Linked DNA regions of Homo sapiens: region 1 is linked to region 2. Evidence: promoter capture Hi-C in 16 types of primary human blood cells and fetal thymus (Javierre and others, 2016). All regions are on one chromosome and are shown on one strand. Each heading gives the region's core, a stretch centred on a gene start or on the middle of the fragment in contact. The rest is flanking DNA. Distances are from core to core; before and after follow the strand shown.

The links. The method cuts DNA at HindIII sites, captures the fragments that hold promoters and counts their contacts. A CHiCAGO score of 5 or more calls a contact.
Region 1: a fragment that was not itself captured here is called in contact with the fragment with the promoter of HAUS1 in region 2 in 2 of 17 cell types (non-activated CD4 T cells and naive CD4 T cells); the score reaches 7.6 in non-activated CD4 T cells.

What each region holds. Positions count from the first base shown.
Region 1 is chr18:46,652,955-46,656,956 of GRCh38, reverse strand. LOXHD1 (lipoxygenase homology PLAT domains 1) reads left to right here. Exons shown (of 41, transcript NM_001384474.1): 1 at 1-53. Among named protein-coding and RNA genes, the nearest start is that of LOXHD1, 2.3 kb to the left of the region's middle. The HindIII fragment of the contact is 2,054 bases long and covers 1,127-3,180 here.
Region 2 is chr18:46,102,665-46,106,320 of GRCh38, reverse strand. HAUS1 (HAUS augmin like complex subunit 1) reads right to left here and starts at 1,936. Exons shown (of 9, transcript NM_138443.4): 1 at 1,880-1,936; 2 at 953-1,127. The coding sequence starts at 1,909. It also overlaps a transcript of ATP5F1A not described here. RefSeq lists an enhancer at 1,532-1,621 and a silencer at 2,012-2,111. The HindIII fragment of the contact is 1,925 bases long and covers 1,422-3,346 here.

The DNA of each region.
Region 1 (4,002 bases), core at 904-3,403, 550 kb before region 2:
CGCCTCGGAGGACGACGAGGGGGAGCTGGAACACGAGTACTACAAGGCCAGAGGTGCGGGGTCCCAGCCTGCGGGGGGCGGGTGGTGCAGCTGGCTGCGGTGGGCAGGGGTCTGTTCCTGTCTATGGGGAGTCATTCTAAGATTTCGGAGCAAGCCCTTCCTCACTGATTATCCCATGTGTCTGTTCCATATCCCCTCGGAGTAAGAAGGCAGGCATTATGCAGGGATGGTGGGGTCCCTGTTGTACAGACAGGTGGAGCAACTTGCCTTTAGCCCCCGATTCTCAGTGGAACAGAATAGACTAGAGCCACAGTGCCCCCATGGCCCCATGTTCTCCAGCTCCTGAACATCCCCAAAGCCACGTTCCAGTCTGGTCCCCGAGTAGGTGGTCTGCATCAGGCAGAGCGCCCTGAACTGCTGGGGTCATGAAAGGATGTCTTGGGGAGGAAGCCTGACAGCTCATCCTATGCCCACTGTGGTTGATGGAGACAGGGAGCCTGGGGCTTTGCAAGGAGATGTCCATCCCATATGTCGAAGGCGGCCGGTGCTCTGGACCCCAGGGCCTTGTCCTTCTAGTCTCATCTTTCCCTGGGCCACATGAGACCTGCTTGAAATTGCTCTAACTCCTTGCCAGGTAAACCAAAGAAGTGAACTGTGACCCTAGAGCTGGTTTTGGCCAGCAGAGTTTAAGTTGTTTTTTTCCTTTCCAGCGTTTTGAAATCCTTTTTTCTGTGAATGCCAATAGGCTGTGGACGTCCAGCTTATCACAGTCTCCACCACTCCCTGTCATCTCATACTAGGTCTGGTTTACTCATCAGTGCTGCCTGCCTAGTCTCTGAAGCCATTTAAATTCTCAATGCTGACTCCAAAGTGGCTCACCAGTCCCCGTAAGCGCCATAGTCATCCATGCATTCACTCATTCATTCATTCAGCAAGTATTTATTGAATGTGTGCTCTGTGCCTGCCCATGGCCTTGTTTGTCTTCCCCTTTCTCCCTCTTCCTGTCCTCACTCTGAAAGCCCAGTTCTGATCCCATCTCTTCCATGAAGCCCTCCTTGATTCCAGTCCACCATGAGTTCCCTGATTACATCCAATTCATAATTGTTCCATTGTTTCCTGCAAAGCTTGTCCAGCTGTGTCCGGCTTGCAGCCACAGTCACCCTAAACTCCGTGAGGGTGGGGCCTTGCTGTACTTGTCTTTAGTCCTCATCATTCAGCCCCTGCACAGTCCTGGGCTTAGAGGAGGTAGTCTCAGCTGAGATCAGGAAGGCTGTGGCCCCTTTCCAGGTACAGAATCCTGGGTACCTCCAAGGGTAGAAGGGGGGGCTGTAGTAGGAGGAAGTGGGCCCAGGAAAAAGGAAGCATCCGCCACCTTCTAACAGTACATGTGCCTCAAGCTCTGACCCTCTTGTGAGGGGAGGGGCTGGGAGGTGAGACATCAGGGCAGCATCCCCACCATGTGTGCTTGGCTTCCCAGGTGATTCTCCCCAGCCACGTGACTGTTGGTGAGATCATTCTAGAACCTCTCACAGCCAGCAGCACACTGTTGACTTCTGTTTACGGGCTCTGCATGCCTCAGTGTGGCCATAATGATCGTTCTCCTTTTTATCCTTTCAGAAGCCTTTTTACTAATGTTCTCATGTTTGATCCTTAAGATCCCTGAGCACAGTCAAGGCAGGCGGATCAGCACCACTTCACAAGTTAAAGACTGAGGCCCTGAGACATTAAGTGACTTGAGCAAGGTCACAAACAGGATGGACAACAAGAACCTCAAATATCTTTTTCGAGGCAAGCGCCCCATTTCATCTCATGATGCTGCCAAATAGGATCATGCACCATGCACCAGGCACTGAGTTAAGCACTTTATTCATGTTAACTAATTTCATCTTCATGATGACACATTGCAGCAGATGTGTTATCCTTTTTTTTCAGATGAGGAATCTGAAGCACAGAGAAGTTAAGTAACTTGCCCAAGATCACACAGCTAGCAAATAGCAGAGTTAGGATTTGAATCCAGCTGGTCTGGCTGGTCCTTGGTCTTGTACTGCCCGATTTTGACTGTGGTAAAAATAGCTGGAGAAGAGCAAGTGGAGGTGGGTGCCACGCTGACATTTCTAAGGGAACCATGGATTCTCCTGTCTGTTGCAGGGTACTGCCTATAAATGTGGATGATGCTAACGGTGGTCACATGCTGAGCTCCAGCTGTACTGTCATTGTCACCCTCTCAGTGCTAGAACAACGGTTCCCCCACTTCCTTTGAACTCTGGGCTCTGGTGTTACGTGGAGAGTCTTGATGAGTGTGATGGGGAGGAAGAAGGAGGGAAGAAAAGCCTAGGTGTTCCTTCTCTCTTCTTAGGCTACCTTCTGGCTACCCTGGGATTCCCCAATAACCAGAGGGAGGAGAGCAGCTCCCTCAATGCTTTGAGGGCAGGCTGAACGTGGCACATTGCTCTCTCTCCTAAGACAGGGCCCATGATGGGAAGAATAACTCATTCCAGAACTGGAGAGTAGAAGGGGGCCTCAGAGGCCACCCTGCACAGGCTTCCAGCCCCGGAGGCATCTCCTCTCCTGCATCCTAGACAGGAGTCCCCCAGCATCTGTTGGGATGCAATTTTCCAAGGCAGCTTCCTTGGGGATGTTGTCAATGGAAATGATAGCAATGATTTCTCTCTTAGTCCATTGGTGCTGCTATGCCAGAATACCTGAGACTGGTGATTTATAAAGAACATATTTTTTTTTCTTCCTCAAAAATTCTGGAGGCTGAGAAGTCCAAGATCAAGGTGCCAGTATCTGGTGAGAACTTTCTTGCTGTGTTCCCACATGGCAATAGGCAGAAGGACAAGCCCCTTTATAACGGCACCCAATCCCTTTCACGAGGGGGAAGCTCTCATGGCCTAATCACCTCTTAAAGGCCCCACCCCTTAATACTATCACAATGGCAACACCTGAATTTTGGAGGGGACATATTCAAACTATAGCAATGGTGATGATGATGATAGTAACCACTTATGAAATGCCTATCTTTTCATGCAACTGTGGAAGAATGCCTATAAGGTAAATTCCCAGAAATGTAACTTCTAGGTCAATGAGTTTAAGAGTTGAAAGCTATTTTACTTAATCCTTATCACAGTCCTTCAAGGAAGAATTTATTCCTACTTCAGAGATGAGGAAATTGAAGCTTAGTAAACCATTTGGTTGAAATCACATAGCCAATAATGGTAGAACTGGGCTTCAAATCCTGGTCAGTTTTGTTCCATATTTATTCATTGATTGTTTCATTCATTCATATGATCATTCATCCAGATAATTATTTGACTGTCTCTCATGTGCTGGGCTGTTGCTAAGAGCAACAGATTGACAATTGTTTGTGCTGACTTGGAAACTTTATTAGTGGGGGTCTTCCCATCTGGAGTTCAACAGAATTCTGTGTCCTCCACAAGGTATCTGTCTTCTACAAGATAGTTCTTCAGTTATTTGAATTGAGTTTTTCTTTAAGTTAAAATTTTAAACTTGAGCAATATTGTATATACAGAACAAAACTTATGAAGGTACGTTTACATATGCACATGCCTGTGCAACCAGTATTCAGATCAGAATATGAAATATTTCCAGCCCCCAGAATGCTCCTTCACACCCCTTCTCAGAGGCGACAAATCTCCCGATTCTGTCATCATAGATTAGTCTTTTTCCTGTTCTTAAACTTTTTTTTTGAGATGGAGTCTCGCTCTGTCACCCAGGCTGGAGTGCAGTGGCGTGATCTCGCCTCACTGCAACCTCTGCCTCCCAGGTTCAAGCAATTCTCCTGCCTCAGCGTCCTGAGTAGCTGGAATTACAGGTGTGCGCCACCACGCCTGGCTAATTTTTGTATTTTTAGTAGAGACGGGGTTTCACCACGTTGGTCAGCCTGGTCTTGAACTGACCTCATGACCTGCCTGTCTCGGCCTCCCAAAGTGCTAGGATTACAGGTGTGAGCTACTGCTCCTGGCCTGTTCTTGAACTTTT
Region 2 (3,656 bases), core at 687-3,186:
ATTTTTGTATTTTTAGTAGAGACGGTGTTTCACCGTGTTAGCCAGGATGGTCTTGATCTCCTGACCTTGTGATCCGCCCGCCTCGGCCTCCCAAAGTGCTGGGATTACAGGCGTAAGCCACCGTGCCCGGCCTTGAATGCACTTTTTCAAACTATATATGCCCAGCAGAAAATTCTAATGCAATCTCCTGATACGTAGTCATAGAGTAATTTCGTCCAAGTCTCACATTTCATGGCCACCACCTCAGGTGTCCTGATAGGTCCGTATGACTAAATCATGGAGACCGGAAACAGAAAAAACAGATAGGTAAGTAAAAAACCACAAGGCATCTTGTGTGTCAGACTAACAAGTTTAGACTCTTTTAAGGCTTACTGTTTTGCTATCAGAGTACCAATAAGATATTTAGTATAATAACATTTATTACTTAGAGAATTACTACTGGCCAGGCAGGGTGGCTCATGCCTCTAATCCTACCACTTTGGGAGGCTGAGGCAGGCGGATCACCTGAAGTCAGGAGTTCGAGACCAGCCTGGCCAATATTGTGAAACCCTGTCTTTACTAAAACACAAAAATTAGCCGGGTGTGGTGGTGCAGGCCTGTAGTCCCAGCTACTTGGGAGGCTGAGGCATGAGAATCACTTGAACCCAGGAGATGGAGGTTGCAGTGAGCTGAGATCACACCACTGCACTCCAGCCTGGGCGACAGAGCAAGATTGTCTAAAATATATACACACACACACACACACACACACACACACACACACACACACATACATATACATATATATAAACATAAAACAATAAAGTTACTACTATAACAGAGTGGAAGAAAATCTGGGAAAAATAAAGGAGCAAAACAAGTAGTCTACAGTAAATTAATCCTGTATACTTTAGTGTTATAAAATTTGGTTACCTCTATTTATTCTCGTTCAAAACTCTGGACTTAATCTCACCTTCTGACTCGTATTCACTTGCTTTCTGCTTCAAGTCCTCTATTACCAGGTAGACATCCCTGTCCCGGACCCTGTTGCGTTCTGAAAGGTGATGTAAAATCTCTGTGGTCCGTGGGTTCACCTCATACTGTGGAATAGGATGATCTCCAAATATTTTTTTTAACCACGCAGCAACCTAACCATTAAAAGAAAGACAAATATTATAAGCCTTGTTTACTGTAATGGCTCGATGAGAATATGACAAAGAAGTGATCAAAAGCAAACTAAATGCTTTCTGTGACTATTTTGGAGTCCTACTTCACAACCTCACTTGTCTTTAGGGAGATACTAGATATCAGGAAATAAAAAGTGAGCAAGTACACAAAGAAACGTACAATACTGAAAATTACCAGAGAACAATCCGTTCTTTTCCAAATCTGCAAAAGCGGTACAGGCTAACAATTTGCCTCGCTTGAAAAACCTTAAAGCTTAATAGACCATAATAATGCGAACGCATTATTAGACCGTGCATGGTCTGAAAAAAGCAATTGTCCCTCGATCACCAGAAGCCCCGCCGCGCCGGGAGGCTCCCAGTGTTGGGATGCAGGGCGCGGAAGCAGTTCAGATGTGGAAGCCGCCGGGCTGAGCAGCGAACCGGAAGGCGGGTTTGGCTTCATAAGTCCCACTCCAGAGTCTGTGGACACGGGCTGCTCAACGCCTCTCCCGGGCCAGATCCAAACAAGGGGAGGCCCGGGCAGGAAGGGAAAGGCCTTCAGGAGAGTCTAAGCACGGGGGGCTTGCAGATAGTGACGGCGGCACTAAAAGACGGATGTGTGGAATAGGGGAGAGAAAAGTAGACGTGGCGCGCACAGGAGACCCGCTGTCGGCGCGGGGGTGTCAAAAACGCGTTTTCCAGGAGGCCAACGATCCCCATTCCCGCCCCATCACCTGCGTTTCTCTCTCCTCCTGCGGCTCCATAGCTGCGGCTCCCGCCACTTTACTAGGAACTCCTAGCGGGAGATGCGCCCCGCTCACTCCCTAGGCCCCGCCCACACGCCGTTGGCACCCGCCCCTCGCCGGGCCCGGGATTTCTGGGAGTTGTGGTTTTACCTGAGACTCCTGGCCGTTGAGCCCCTGTGCAAGGCTGGTCGAAGGCTCTGGCATTGCAAGCCTCGCTTCGTTGCCACTTCCCAGCTCTTCCCGCCTTCCGCGGTATAATCAACACTACGAGAGATAGAGCCGCCTAGAACCAGGTTGTTTTTTCTTTCTTTTATTTTTATTTCTTGTTTGAATCACTTGTCGTTAAAAAAAAGTACTTGAAACGTTTGGTTCTTGCTTAGCAAGATGTTTGTGTTTCTTCCACATTGATTGCATCCACTCAGAATTTATATTCTACCCTGGCAATATGAGCTGAGGCAATCTTAACTTGATCCGTTAGTTCCCCCAACCTAAAAACTAGGGACATTTTTTTTTTTTGAGACAGAGTCTCGCTTTGTCGCCCAGGCTGGAGTGCAGTGGCATGATCTCGGCTCACTGCAACCTCTGCCTCCTGGGTTCAAGCGATTCTTCTGTCTCAGCCTCCCAAGTAGCTGGGACTACGGGCAAGCGCCACCACGCCTGGCTAATTTTTGTGTTTTTAGTAGAGACGGGGTTTCACCATATTGGCCAGGCTGGTCTCGAACTCCTAACCTCATGATCCGCCCACCTCGGCCTCCCAAAGTGCTGGGATTACAGGCGTGAGCCAGCGCGCCCAGCTTTTTTTTTTTTTTTTTTTTTTTTGAGATGGAGTCTCTGTTGTTCAGGCTGGAGGGCAGTGGCACGATCTCGGCTCTCGGCTCTCAGCTCACTGCCACCTCTGCTTCCCGGGTTCAAGCGATTCTCCTGCCTCAGCCTTCCGAGTAGCTGGGATTACAGGTGTGCATCACCACGCCCAGCTAATTTTTTGTATCTTAGTAAAGATGGGATCTCATCAGGTTGGCCAGCTTGGTCTCGAACTCCTGACTTCAGGTGATCCGCCCGCCTTGGCCTCCCAAAGTGCTGGGATTACAGGCACTGCGCCCGACCTTTTCTTTTCTTTTTGAGATGGAGTGTTTCTCTGTCGCTTAGGCTGGAGTGCAGAGTGACATGATCTTGGCTCACTGCGACCTCCAACCCCCGTCCCCAGGCTCAAGCAATTCTCCTGTCTCATCCTCTCTAGTAGCTGGGATTACAGGCTTGTGCTAGCATGCAGGGATAATTTTTTTATTTTTAGTAGAACGGGGGGTTTCACCACGTTGATCAGGCTGGTCTCAAACTCCTGACCTCAAGTGATCTGCCTGCCTCGGCCTCTCAAAGAGCTAGGATTACAGGTGTGAGCCAACACACCCAGCCTAAAATGATTTTCTTTTCAAAGGAAACTTACTAGCAAGCCAAGCTTATTTATTATTTATTTTATTTTATTTTTAGAGACAGGGTCTTGCTCTTTCGTCCAAGCTGGAGTATAGTGGTGATCACAGTTCACTGCAACCTTGAACTCCTGGGCTCAAGCAATCCTCCCGCTTCAGCCTCCTTAGTAGCTGGGACTATAGGCGTGCACCACCACACCCAGCTAACTTTTTGTATTTTTTGTAGAAAGAGGGTCTCACTATGTTGCCCAGGCTGTTTTTGAACTCCTGGCCCCAAGTGATGCTCCCACTTGGGCCTCTCAAAGTGCTGGGATTACAAGCATGAGGCACCACACCCAGCC